5 separate regions of the Homo sapiens genome follow, and all the other regions are linked to region 1. The links are contacts of gene promoters, found by promoter capture Hi-C in blood cells and fetal thymus (Javierre and others, 2016). All regions are on one chromosome and are shown on one strand. Each heading gives the region's core, a stretch centred on a gene start or on the middle of the fragment in contact. The rest is flanking DNA. Distances are from core to core; before and after follow the strand shown. Region 1 holds the start of TNC (tenascin C). Region 2 has its middle 42 kb from the start of TNFSF15. Region 3 has its middle 51 kb from the start of TEX48. Region 4 overlaps TEX48 (testis expressed 48). Region 5 holds the start of LOC105376231 (a long non-coding RNA gene).

Region 1 (2,700 bases), core at 98-2,597:
GTAAAATACAGCCAAGTCTCAGACCTGCCAGCCTAGTGAGACACCCTCAGATTGGGTGAGATAAAAAGCGGGGGCTGGGGGCGGGCTGAGGAACAACACACAAGAAACAATCCAAGACTGGCTCAATGCCTCTTTTAACTTCCAGAGTGATGGCAGTTTTTGGCAATGACAATGATTATCCAAACTTCCAGTTATTAAGCAGTCATTGCTGATCTTTCTATACCTCATTTTCTCCTCAAAACGACAGCAGACGCTATTGTCCCCATTTTAGAGATGTGAAAACTGAGGATTAAGGAAGTGATGTATCTTTCTCAGGGTCATATGTATGGTGGTGGGGAGAATACCAAACACCTCTGGCTTCAAACCTAAGCTCTTATTCCTCTTACAACACTGATGGGTGAGAAGAACCCCTGTGTTCTTTCCAAAGTACACCAGGGGCAGCAGGGTTCCCATACCTGGGGGATGTTGTTGCTCAGATCTTTCTGTGATGAGAGGTGAGGAGGAGGAGGTGATTCTAGAGACATGTGGGACGCTGCTGGCTCTAGGCACCCCAGTAAAGCTGTTCTCCACCACTCTCTAGCTGCCTGTCAGTTATTCATCTGGCCCAGGAGCCACCTCCTCTCTTCTGTCCCCCAGCTCTCATTTCCAGGGTGAATATTTTGAGGACCAAATGAGGGAATGGGTACAAAACTCTTTGTAAACTTTATGTAAGTGCTGTTTAGATATAAACTTTTATATTCTCCCTGCACTCCTCTATCAAACTCCCTCTAACCCATCCCAGGGGCAGGCTATGAGCAAAGTCTGCCTTAAAACTCTACTGCCCTAACCCTCAAAATAAAAGATATATACAGGTGAATCAGCCAGACTAGAAGTAGGAGAGCAGTTGAAGAGAAAATTTTTACTTTTCCTCTGCAGAACAGCAGAAGATAACAACTTTACGAAAAGTTCCTTCCAAGTCTGACTATTCATAAAGTTAAAACAAACAAAATTACAAGACCAGAAAAGTCAAGGTGCATCTGATATAACCAATACACACTCCTTTTTTTTCCAGCGGTGGAAAAAAAAACCCCATATGTTTTGTAATTATAATATAAAATCACAACTCATTTGGTACCAGGAATGCAATCCTTACATCATAAGGATCTCTAGTGATGAGGGCAAAACAGACTTACCTTTCCGATGGGCGAGAGACCTAGGTCCTTGGAAGAAGTACCTGGAGTGTGGAGCTGCGGCGGTTCCCACGTGCGCGTTCCCCCGAGTTCCCCAGCAGCGCTGCCTTTGTGCCCACGGAGGCGGGGGCGTGTATCTGCGCGCGGGAGAGGCGGGTGACAGTAGGCAGGCTGTGGCCGGTGCAGCCAACTTTGGCTGGCTTATATAGCGAGCTCCTTCCTCTGTAATGGGACGCCTCGCCTCCAGACATCCTTTCCCACTTTTTCAGTTGGCGAATTAAAGGAACAGCCCTCCCAGCGGAACAGGGTTAGCTCATGAAAGACGCACTCACTCCTGGCTCTCGGCCAGGGAAGGAACCCATTTGCATACAATTTATGGCGAAAGTAGGAATTCCCGCCTGCCCGCCCCCGACCCCGAGTAGCTGTTAGTGAAATGTGATTTTTGCTTTGCTCCCCACACGGGTTTTCTAATTGTGAGACGGATGCCTGGGGAGCAAGAGGGAGTAGGATCCGCAGCCCTGGCTCCCCTCTTGTACTTGGTCAAGCTGGAAATGGGACCAGGGCTCGCCTGGGCTCTGGGCAGCAGCTGCTCAGTGGCACCTCGGAGCGAGTACAGGGACTGAGCCCAGTTCCTGGAAAGAGGAGATAAAGCCCTTCAAAAGCCTGGGGGGTTTCAGGTTTCTCTGGGCCAGCGGAGAGATAACCCAGGATTAGGTCTCAGCAGGTGGGGATCGTGCGGGACGCTCACATCAGCCCTGCTTTTCTTGTGTGGGAGCCAGCCTTGCCCAGCTGCTGGGAGGCATCTTTGTTCCAGCCCCAGTGTCCTGCAGGGCAGTAGCTTTTTGACATTGTTCATGCCCTGTGCCTGGTGTGGTCTTCTCAGCTGGGTCTCCAGGGGGAAGGATTTCTGAGGTTTTCTCTTAGTGCTGAAAGGCGTCCCCCACAGCCCTTTCTTTAAAGAAAAGCAATAATTTAAAAAGGTAACAACCTAATCCTTGAGCCATAAGCTGCGCCTTTGCTTTCCAGCCTGCCGTGGATTTCCTCCAAGCTCTGAGTCATCCGTTCGTTTGGTGGTTAGCATGCATTGAGTATCCTCAGGGCATACAGGGGCATTTAAGGGAGTGGAGAAGTAGCACTTCACCCGTGCCTAGAGACTTCTGAGCCTGCCGCAGAGCATAGTAGTTTGTGACAGTGAAGTAAAATGAAGCATTAAATGTAATTCAAAACGCAACTACCATTGAGCCCTCCCTTATTAAGTCTATAATCAGGTGCTGTGCAGGGTACTTTATGAACACTATTTTTGTTCACTATTTTTATTATATCCTTGTAACCAGTAAGTAGGATAGACACAAGTGTCTCTTTTTTACACAAGAAAACTGACGTTTAGAGAAGTAATGAAACTTTACCAAGGGAATACACCTGGGAAGTGTTTATATTACAACACTGGGCTCCAGAGATCTATTACACGTTACTGTTTAGGAATAGGGTATGATGATATTTAAACAATGTTTTATGCTGTATTAGATTGTTA
Region 2 (2,811 bases), core at 283-2,782, 350 kb before region 1:
TTTTTTTAAGATGGTAGTCTCAGTATGTTGCCAAGGCTGGTCTTGAACTCATGACCTCAAGCAATCCCCCTGCCTTGGCCCTCCAAAGAGCTGGGATTAAATGTGGGGCATTGCCCCTGGCCTGCTGTTTCTTTAGTTGAGCAACTTTGTCCTCTGTTTACTGGGAATACTGTATAAACAACACAAACCTATACCTTTAAATAACGGAATCAGCTTCAGCTCACATTCTTAAAAGAAGCATGGGGTGAGACCCTCCAAGTGTCCAGTAGTGTCACACCTGTTGCCCTGGTGGAACGATAAGCAGACGCCCATGAGATCTGACTTGTTGATTTTGTGTTCTCTCTTTTTGCGTGCCATGTTGGTTGAGATCTTGCCCACTGACTGGTGCATTTTCAAAGCATCTCACATTCACGTAAACATCTCACATTCATGTAAACATCTCACATTCACTTAAATTTGAACATTTTAAAATGTTGAAATCACAGCTCTATACCTCACTGTCTTCTGTGCTTCAGCAAATTGCTGAATTTGCATTATGCAATATTCGTGTGCAATATGTCTTGGAGAAAGTCTGAGGCTCGCAGTTTAATTATTGCTTTGAAGTTCTAGGAGCAGGGGATTTATCACCTTGTGCCATAAATACAAAAGTTGGTGACACATCATTAGAAATATGGATCCCCAGAATTAAATTGTTTTAGCTAAAAAGAATGCTATCAAAATGCTTTAAAAAAGATCCTAACTTCTCAGAGCTTAAGGCTATTATATCAGCAAGGTTGAGAGAAAAAGTTTCTTAATTGAGTAAACTTAAAGAAGCTTCATTAAGTGTGTGGGAACTGAGTAATTAGGATTTTCAATCCCTTGTTAAAATACCCTAGTGCATTTCAGGAGGGGAGTTTTCCTGTGGCAACAGATCAACAGAAAGGACCTATAGGCTTGATGTCATTTTATGAGGTTACTGTATTCAGTTTATTCATTCAGTCAATATTTATGGAGTGCTTATTTTGTGCTAGACAGTATTCAGTATGCATTGGCTATACTATTAACAACATAGGTAGGTCTCCCTTCTCAAGATTATTCCAGTGGAATGGGGCTGGAGATATGTATATAATAAAAAAAAACCCAGCATGATTTTGGAGAGTGGTACATGCTGTGTATGGGCAAAGTAGCAGTTGGGAAGTGCTAGGAACAAAGGATGGGGATCAGGCTTGCTAGGGTTGAGAAAGACCTCTCCAATAAGGGGACATTTTGATGTAAAACCGTAGAACCCTAAAAGCTAGGTTCAAGTACCTGATGCGTAGTAAGCCAAACACTGATACATCAGTGCTTAGGAGCAGAGAAAGTTTTATTTGATTTGGCCGAAGTGTGAGGATGGGAGAGGCAAACTCTCAAATCTGACTGGTCTTTGAACATAACTGGGGGTTTTTGTGAGTAAGGTAGGTATGTGGAAGGCGAGATCCCCAATGATCAAAGCTGCTTGCATCCCTCGGCTGATCAAACTTCTGGATGCCATCAAGGAGATCTGCATGAGCTAAGCATCATTGTTCTTTGAAAGAAAACCAAGTTCATTAATCTTGTGGGCAGCCCCCGGGGTCAATATATGAGGTTTATGAATTATTAGTGAATACTCTCTACCAAAATGACTAAGTGCAAGCAAGCACGCATGGAGGAAGAAAAGAACAAAGATTTTTATAACACAGGCTTGGTTACAATCTGAACTGAGACCAACTAAGGGGAAGGAGTGAGCTATGCAACATTCTGGAAAGGCCGTCATAAGCAGGAAGACAGCAAATGCAAAGTCCCCGAGAATTCCTGGAGAAGGAGGGTTGGCATAGTGGCCAAAGGCAGGTGAGAGTCTGGCAGACAACAGTCAGCAAATCCCCATAGTGGGGATTTGATTCTAATTGCAATGGGAAGCCATTGGAAGGTTTTAAGCAGGAGAATGGGATCACTCATATATAATCATTTTCTGCTTGCTGGATCAACTAATTCCCCTGCAGAAGGACTAAATCAGACATTCTAAATTATATCACAGAGAAAGGATTAAAGTAATACCTAGATCCAAGCCTGACCCTAGAGATTCTGATTTATCAGGCTGTAGAAAATTGGTATGTTGGCCCCTCTCTGGGTATTTCTGGTGTTCAGCCATGATAGAGTTGCCACTGAATTAGATCTTATTTTGCAGTAGGTGTTTACAAGTTGGAAAATGAAGCCCATACATTATTAATTATGTACATTCCTACTTAGATGGGAATGAAGCTTGCAATTAAATAAATGCAACAGAACGATTAAATTAGGAAATTATGCCAGAAATGGGATGCTACTACTGTACTATTTCTTTGTTGAGAACCAACTATATATCTAAGGCATTGGACTAGTGCTTTGTGTATCTGATCATATTTATACTTATAAGAAGCATGGAAGGTAGGTATATTATCCCATTTGGACTACAAAGTCTAAGGTCATATGACCAGAAAGTGTATGGCTGGGCCTTAAGATGAGAAGATAATTGTTGTAGAAATAGGGCATCAGACAGGACTGGTTGGTTCCTTCCTTTTGTACACAGACAGACCCATCATTTTCACATTGTGTCTTGGATTTGAGATAAACTCATACATCCCTAGCCATAATCAATTAGAAAACAGCCTCTCTCATTTCTCAGATGGTCTGAATTTATATCAGTGTATGGTTTTAGAATTTCCAAGCCCTAGACCTTGTAGATTTCATCTCCTGTAAGGACTGAAATATTGCCTCTTTTAGAGTCTCAGTTTTGTTCCAGTTTATGTGAAAAATTCTAGACCTATCCTGCCAGGC
Region 3 (2,700 bases), core at 18-2,517, 380 kb before region 1:
ACATTTGTCTTTCTTTTTTTAAAGATAACATTGTTGAGATGTAATTGGCATATAAGACCTGCACATACAGATGTGCACAATTTGTTGCGTTCGGGCAAAAGGCACACACCTGTGCTGTCATCACAATCAAGGTCATAGACATATCCAACATCTCCCAATTGGATGGTGTAGATATAAAACAATTTCATTATTATGCAAAATGTTCTTAGACAATGCTGGTCTAATTTGAAATATAAGCAGGCCTATCATTTTCCAGGGAGGGCTTCCTTGGTGACTGTTAGGGGTTGAATTGTGTACTCCAAAATTCATGTTGAAATCCTAACCCCCAGTACTTCAGAATGTAACTATATTTAGAGATTAAAGTCTTTAAAGAGGTAATTAAGATTAAATAAGGTCATTGGGATGGGCTGTAGTCCAATATAATTGTTGTCCTTCTAAGAAGAGGAAATTAGGGTTTAGACTCACATAGACCATGTGAAGACACGGTGAGAAACTGATCATCTGCAAGTCAAGGAGAGAGGCCTTCTGACACCTTGTTCTTGGACTTCCAGTCTCCAAAACTGTCAGAAAATAAATTTCTGTTGTTTAATCCACCCAGTCTGTGGCACTTTGTTACGGCAGCCTGAGCAGCAAAACAGTGATTTTATTCTTTGATCTGCTTATAACACAGGAGAATGCATTGAACTCTTTGGGAATTCAAACCTGTTCAGTCTTGGCCTGTGGAAATATACTAGTCGTAATAGCCTTGGCATGGATGTTAGCTCAAGCCACACCTTCTGAGTATTGATGCATCATCCCTGGTGTCCAGAGCTATTATAATCTTCACCCTCTGTCATGTGACTTTTGAAGAATGAACCCAGAGTAGCCTTTGTGGATTGCTTTATTCCTGTAATTAAGTTTATAGCCTTTAATCTTAGGTCGTTAATGTATTTCTTTTTAAATTAGTAAATAAGTAAGTAATAGACATAAGAAAAAAATTCCATACAGCTCAAGAAAAGCAGGGGAAAATAAATTCTTAAGACAATAACAGTACAGGGTCAGGAGCAAGGAAATCAAATTCCTAGTTCAACATTGAATAGCTTGGATTTTAAAAATGTTATGTAATATTTTTATATATAAGATAATGTTACATAATGATAGTTACATTATCACTGTGACATTATTACATATATTATGGAATTATAGTTTATGTATATGTATGCATGTGCATATCTATATGTGTAGATATATAGTACTGTGGTTCCTCCTTGTCCTCAGTCTTGCTTTTCAAAAGTTCAGTTACCTGCCGGGCACGGTGGCTCACGCCTGTAATCCCAGCACTTTGGGAGGCCTAGGTGGGTGGATCACGAGGTCAGGAGATCGAGACCATCCTGGCTAACACGGTGAAACCCCGTCTCTACTAAAACAAATACAAAAAAAAATTAGCTGTGCGTGGTGGTGGGTGCCAGCTACTCAGGTAGTCCCAGCTACTCGGGAGGCTGAGGCAGGAGAATGGCGTGAACCCGGGAGGCAGAGCTTACAGTGAGCCGAGATCACGCCACTGCGCTCCAGCCTGGGCGACACAGCGAGACTCCGTTTCAAAAAATAAAATAAAATAAAATAAAATAAAAAGTTCAGTTACCTGCAGTCTACTGCAGTCTGAAAATATTGAATGGAAAATTCCAGAAATAAACAATTCCTAAGTTTTAGACCGTGCGTCACCCTGAGTGATGAAAACTTGTGCCATCCTTCTCTGTTCCACCTAGGACATGACTCATCCCACCATATCCACCCTGTATACGCTCCCTGGCCATTAGTCATTTAGTATCTGTTTCAGTTATCTGAAAACCTGTCTTGGTATTACAGTGTGGGTATTCAAGTGACCCTCATTTTCAAAATGCAAGAGTAGCGATGCTGGCATATTGTTATAATTGTTCTATTTCATTATTAGTTGTTAATCTCTGACTGTGCCTAATTTATAAATTAAACATCCTAGGGGTGTATGTCTTGAAAAAGCCATACCATAGTACATATAGGGTTTGGTACTGTCTGTAGTTTCGGGCATCCACTGGGGTTCTTGGAATGTATCCCCTAGGACTACTTTAAATTATGAAGAATCACATTTAAATGGATAAACCTACCGCGCACAGGGAACTTTTCTAATACTATTGAATTGATCTACGTGCTGCTCCTAATCCCATTCCTTCACCCGTCTTTCAGCAGTAAGTACTACCCTGAAATTAAAAAACATCATTTCTTTCTTTTTTTTTTTTTTTTTTTTGAGACAGTTTCGCTCTTGTTGTCCAGGCTGGAGTGCAGTGACGTGATCTTGGCTCACTGCAACCTCCACCTGCTGGGTTCAAGTGATTCTCCTGTCTCAGCCTCCCAAGTAGCTGGGACTAGAGGCGTGCCACCACGCCCGGCTCATTTTTGTATTTTTAGTAGAGACGGGGTTTTGCCATGTTGGCCAGGCTGGTCTCAAACTCCTGACCTCAGGTGATCCGCCCACCTTGGTCCCCCAAAGTGCTGGGATTACAGGTGTGAGCCACCACGCCTGGCCTTCTTTGTTTTTTTTAACAATAGGGCTTCAGTACTTCTCTATGTACCCCCTAAACATGATCTAATTTAGGATCGTTTGTGTTTTAACTTTCTAAAAGTGGTATCACACTTACATGTAGTACTCCAAGAGTTACTTCTTTTCATTCAATATTATGCTTCTAG
Region 4 (2,779 bases), core at 155-2,654, 450 kb before region 1:
CCTGCCTCAGCCTCCCTAGTAGCTGAGATTACAGGAGCACGCCACCACACCTGGCAGATTTTTTTATTTTTAGCACAGATGGGGTTTCACCGCATTGGCCAGGCTGGTCTTGAACTTATGACCTCATGTGATCCACCTGCCTCGGTCTCCCAAAGTGTTGGGATTACAGGCGTGAGCCACTGCGCCCAGCCAATAGGCTAAATTTTTTAAGCTTAGTTAGATGTGACAATATATTTAAAAATAATAAGACATTAGTTGGTAAGGGGGAAAGGAAAAGAGAAGGACACATCCTCTGGTGCAATCAAGAACTTTAATTGGAGGCAGCTCTTCCCATGGTGGCTTTTTAGGAGCTGGAGTGACTCTTGCTTGGTGGCACAAGGATGGCTCAGATGTCTTCTCCTCCTTCAGGGGAGTTTCCGAATTAGTCTTCATGACTCCTGTCCACCGCCCTCTTCCTCATGGAGATGCCCCAGCAGCTGTGCAGCCGCCGGCTAGAATGCTCAGGGCCTCCCAGTGAGGCATGGCTGGAATGGCCAGTGCTCCTGGCAGTAGCGGTTTAAGTTTCTCTTGTAAAAATTTCTTTGGGAAGCATATGCATTCAGATCTGAAAGAAGAAAGGAAAAAATTATGCTGGGTGAAGGCCTTTGAATTGGGCTTTGATGAACTGTTTTGGTTGTTTGTATCCATTGCTGATCATTCCTCAGCTTCTTGAATCTCAAGGGACCCAAGGCAGACCCTAGTCTAGGACTTGGAAGTCTTTTGTGATAGGAGGAGTTTCTTGCAGTGTATTTTGCATTGTGTTACGTTGGTGGCTTCAGTGACAGTAGGCTGTCTTGCAAAGCACAGTGATATGGAAGGTAGGAGACTTGGGCCCATCCTGGCTCTGACACTTACGTCATTCCCTAGTGCACTCGTGGGAAGTCCCTTTCCCTCTGTGAGCCTCACCCCTATGGGGGGGTGGGAAGGGCAGAAGGAAGGAGTGGGCGAGCTAGTGGGGTTCCTACCTTCTCAAGCTTGATTCAAGCAGAGCTGTTCCTCTTTGATCTTTTATAGAAAATGGACTCTGTGAAATGCTGTTTTCAAGGGGGTTTAGTTGTTAGGGGAATTCAAAATGACTGGGTTGGATAATCCTTAGTTCTCAACAGGACTCCTGGGGTGGTTGTGAGTTATGTGAGACCACCTGGGGATAGAACTGGCGCCCAGCAATGTGGCTGCATTTCTTCTTCCTGGGCTGTGCCACTGTCCTGGGATTGGGCATCTGTTCTTCTGTGACCCAGAGGCATTTCACCCCCAGTTGAACTACACTCAATCCACAAGTGTTTTCTGGCATTGTTTACTTGCCATGCACCTGGCTGGATCTGGGGGCATAACAGGGAATAAAACTGATGTGGGCCCCTGCCCTCCTGGCACTTACTGTCTAGTGGCCAAAGTAGACATCAAGTAAGCATATGAAAAATACACGTGTAAGATGATGCCGCCAGGTGCGGTGGTTACACCTGTAATCCCAGCACTTTGGGAGGCCAAGGTAGGTGGATCACTTGAGGTCAGGAGTTCGTGACCAGCCTGGCCAACATGGTGAAACCCTTTTTCTACTAAGAATACAAAAATTAACCAGGCATGTTGGTGGGCGCCTGTAATCTCAGCTACTCAGGAAGCTGAGACAGGAGAATCACTTGAACCTGGGAGGTGGAAGTTGCAGTGAGCTGAGATTGGAGACTGCACCACTGCACTCAAGCCTAGACAACAGAGGGAGACTCCATCTCAAAAAAAAAAAAAAAAAAAAAAGATGATGCCACAAAGCTTTGAAAGGAAAGCATGGATGTTTGCCCTTCCCCCCAGACCTGCTCCTTCTCATGCACTTCCTAGCTTGGAAGATAGTGGAGTCAGGTCTTAGCCTCTAGGGTCTCCCCAGTGTGCTCTGGAATATGACTGGGGCTGCTTGATGGGAGCAATTCCATCTCCCCATCTCGCTTAGCTGAAGTATCAATGGGGTCTGGTTATTAGGACCAGGCTCCCTGTCTGGGAGTTTCTGGTCAGTGTTAGGACCCCAATTTGGGACTCACCCTCAAACTCACTGCTGCTGGAGGAAGTGCTCTTTTTTGTCTGGATCAGGGGTGTTCTCGAAGGCAAATGGGAGACTGCGTTAATGCGCTTGGGATTTTGTCTGTCAAGCTCATCCTTCTGAAGCAGCAAATCTGGCAATGAGAATTCCACAGGGTCACGTGGGGGAGGCTTAGGTGAGATCACGGAAGTGAAGATGTTTTGCAAGCTCTGAAGCAGCGCACACAGGCAAGTGGGGGTTATTATGGGGTGGGGGTGTACCTGAAACTACCACCTCCTGTCCTCTGAGGGCTTCCCCTCACAAGCAGGTGCTGGATTCAAAGTGTGTATTTTAAAATAATACATTGTATTTGTATGTATTTATGGGCTACATATGAAATTTTGTTACATGCATAGAATGTGTAATGATCAATTCAGGGCAAAGTATGTATTCTTTTTAAAACATTAACTTTTTTCCATTTATAAATGTAATGCATACGCTTTATAGAAAAGTTAGGAAATATTGAATAGTATAAGGGAGGAAAAAGTGCCCCAAACATCTCTTCCCCAAGTTATTATCACAGTTCCAGTCTTTTCCTATGCATATTTTACATAGTCCATCATATCCTATGTATTATGGATGAATTTTACTTATCTATTTATTTATTTTTTGAGACAGGGATCTGCTCTGTTGCCCAGGCTGGAGTGCAATGGTGTGATCATAGCTCCCTGTAACCTC
Region 5 (2,700 bases), core at 185-2,684, 420 kb before region 1:
AGCTGGGATTATAGGCACCCACCACCATGCCTGGCTAATTTTTTTTTTTTTTGTATTTTTAATAGAGACAGGGTTTTACCATGTTGATCAGGCTGGTCTTGAACTCCTGACCTCAAGTGATCCACCCACCTCAGCCTCCCAAAGTGCTGGGATTACAGGTGTTAGCCACTGTGCTCAGCCAGAAAAAGTTTTAAGAATTCATTTTTTTTTTTTTTTTTTTTTTTTTTTGAGACAGAGTCTCGCTCTGTTGCCCAGGCTCTGGAGTGCAGTGGCATGATCCCGGCTTACTGCATTTTAACCCAGGCTTCATGGTTCTTTGAGCTTCTGATAATATATTTTTTAAATAAGATACAAATTTTAAAGGAGATAAAACTAAGGTTGATAATTGAGTTTTCCTTTTTTTTTTTTTTTCAATTCAAGAGCAGGTACTGTTTATTAACTGACCAGATTAGAAAAATAATCATGGTAGACATCTTCATTTATTCTTCTAAGAAGGCTGTTGATCTGGTCCCCCCTGTTGTCAGCATTTCCACCTTCTACAAAATGGGTGGTCTTTTTCTTCATTCCACCTTCTGGAGAGGATGGTTTGGAGGGCCACAGGAAGTTACTTGCTTGTTTGAAGCATTTTCCAACAGTATAGATCTCATGAATCAGATCTTCCGTGCAGATGATACCATATTTACCAAGAGATTGAGCAATCAAAGTGTTACCTGTCAAAGCAATTCGCTTCTTATTGATTTTGCCATAACCACACTTACAGATTAGTTCATTTACTGACTTCAGATTTGGCTACCCACATGCAATATATGGTTCTACAATCCTCAGCATGTTAATTGAAGATGTGTTGAGCTTCACAAAGGTTCCATTGAAGATTTTATTTATTTATTTATTTAGAGATGGAGTCTCGCTCTGTCACCCAGGCTGGAGTGCAGTGGTGCAATCTCGGCTCACTGCAAGCTCCACTTCCCGGGTTCACGCCATTCTCCTGCCTCAGCCTCCTGAGTAGTTGGGATTACAGGCGTGTACCACCACACCTGGCTAAATTTGGGATTTTTAGTAGAGACAGTGTTTCGCCGTGTTGGTGAGGCTGGTCTCGAACTCCTGACCTCAGATGATCCACCCACGTCGGCCTCCCAAAGTGTTGGGATTATAGGTGTGAGCCACTGTGCCTGGCAGGGTCTACATTTTTATCAGTTCTGGAAGAGCCAGGATTTTGCCTTTATTAGGTTTGCCATTTCACCCGGTAGAAGGTGGAGAACTAAATCCCAGGAGCTTTGGGGGTCCCTTCCTGCTCTGACTTTGGGTGGTTTTGCAAGGTTCACTCCCAGAGAAAGGGAAAGGTCCCATTATCACATGGTGGTGTGAATCGGAATAAGACAACAGCAAAAAACAACTCCCACCATCCCCCAACTTTTACTATCTCTGGGGCCTCTTCTGAATCTCTCTGCAGAGAGAGATCAGGGATGCCCCGAAATTGAGATTGTGGTCGAGGACTGAGACCAAGTTATTCACAACATGGTTATATAATGGATGCTCAGTCATATCAGGACTCAGAAGATGTGAAGGGCCCCGCCCTGCAAGCTGTTTGAAGGTCATGATGGCTTCGCAGTGATGGGAAACAAGGCCAGTGTCTCTGTTTGTGGGTTCCCTGCACCAAGGGTATAATTCACTGGGGCTCTTCCCACCATGGCCTGGCCATGTCTCCACCCACCCACCCACCACCTGACTCCTGGAGAATGGGGGGGAAACTTTTATACTTAATTTTTTTTTGTCTTCTCCTCTTTTTCTGTGTTTTCTTCAAATTTGTTATAAGGGGGCAGCTTGGCAGAGGAAATGTGGTAGTGGCCTGAGGCCTTGGGGCTGAAAGAGCCCGGGGTCTGAAATCATCAGAATTGTCTCCAGATGAATTGAAACTGAGATGGAAAGCAGCATATGACTCATCGTGGGTAAGAAGCCACAGTCTTTTTTGTATGATTGTAACCCCCGGCCAAGTGAAAGCAGAATGACCCCTGTCTCTTCTTTGGGGTCACACAGCTACTCAGGAGGGTGAGAGAAAATGATGTCTATGAAGCACCTGCTATGGGATAGGCATTCTATCTAAACCTGTCCCATTTAAACCTGACAATGCACAGTGAGGGAGGTGTGAGTACCACCCCTGTTTTGTAGATGTGGCTCAAGGAAGGTAAAGAACACATCTTAGGGGAGAGGTTTCTGGTAGTCACTCTCCCTAGACCAGAGAGAATAAGTAATCCCTTGGTACCCTCCATTTTTCAGCCCCTCTGCCTTAAAAAGTGTGTGCTATAGAAGGGGAGGTGTCATGTCCACTCTGCTCTGTGTCTTTAGGAAAATCCCCTTTCCTCTCTGGTCTATTTCTGCTTCTGTAAAATAAAGTCTTTGGTATGAGGTCTTTTTGTGCTCAAGGATTCTATATTTCATGCCCACTTCTTACTGCTCACTTTCATTTTCCCTAGCTCCAGGATAGGCCATATCACTTCCTGGAAAGTTCTGTCCATTCCCATGCTCCCATGGACAACTGAGAGTGAGGACATAAGGTGATTGGGATAAGATCTTGATATTGTAGGAAAAATGGTGAATGACTTTGAAATGGACCGAAAAGATGACTGGGTGTCTTCATCAGAAAACTAGGTGTTTCTATGGGGCCTCTGGGCCTTTCGTTGCCTTTGAACTGTTTCAGAACTG

The links. Contacts are between HindIII fragments. The CHiCAGO score rates a contact against its expected background, and 5 or more counts as called.
Region 2: a fragment that was not itself captured here is called in contact with the fragment with the promoter of TNC in region 1 in 1 of 17 cell types (M1 macrophages); the score reaches 5.0 in M1 macrophages.
Region 3: a fragment that was not itself captured here is called in contact with the fragment with the promoter of TNC in region 1 in 2 of 17 cell types (M0 macrophages and M1 macrophages); the score reaches 6.4 in M0 macrophages.
Region 4: a contact is called between a fragment that was not itself captured here and the fragment with the promoter of TNC in region 1, in 2 of 17 cell types (M1 macrophages and M0 macrophages). The highest score is 9.3, in M1 macrophages.
Region 5: a fragment that was not itself captured here is called in contact with the fragment with the promoter of TNC in region 1 in 2 of 17 cell types (M1 macrophages and M0 macrophages); the score reaches 6.7 in M1 macrophages.

Annotation. Positions count from the first base shown.
Region 1 is chr9:115,116,810-115,119,509 of GRCh38, forward strand. It overlaps TNC (tenascin C), which reads right to left and starts at 1,348. Exons shown (of 28, transcript NM_002160.4): 1 at 1,173-1,348. All of the region lies in intron 2 of LOC124902255 (a long non-coding RNA gene), which reads left to right. RefSeq lists an enhancer at 1,627-2,446. The HindIII fragment of the contact is 3,799 bases long and covers 1-2,700 here.
Region 2 is chr9:114,762,893-114,765,703 of GRCh38, forward strand. No RefSeq gene overlaps it. Among named protein-coding and RNA genes, the nearest start is that of TNFSF15, 42 kb to the right of the region's middle. The HindIII fragment of the contact is 1,443 bases long and covers 812-2,254 here.
Region 3 is chr9:114,732,249-114,734,948 of GRCh38, forward strand. No RefSeq gene overlaps it. Among named protein-coding and RNA genes, the nearest start is that of TEX48, 51 kb to the left of the region's middle. The HindIII fragment of the contact is 6,712 bases long and covers 1-2,700 here.
Region 4 is chr9:114,666,143-114,668,921 of GRCh38, forward strand. TEX48 (testis expressed 48) reads right to left here. Exons shown (of 5, transcript NM_001199233.2): 4 at 2,064-2,195; 5 at 292-604. The coding sequence ends at 501. Among named protein-coding and RNA genes, the nearest start is that of TEX53, 9.7 kb to the left of the region's middle. The HindIII fragment of the contact is 787 bases long and covers 1,012-1,798 here.
Region 5 is chr9:114,695,443-114,698,142 of GRCh38, forward strand. It overlaps LOC105376231 (a long non-coding RNA gene), which reads left to right and starts at 408. Exons shown (of 2, transcript XR_007061745.1): 1 at 408-2,700. RefSeq lists enhancers at 1,499-1,548, 1,559-1,678, 2,664-2,700. The HindIII fragment of the contact is 3,680 bases long and covers 1-2,700 here.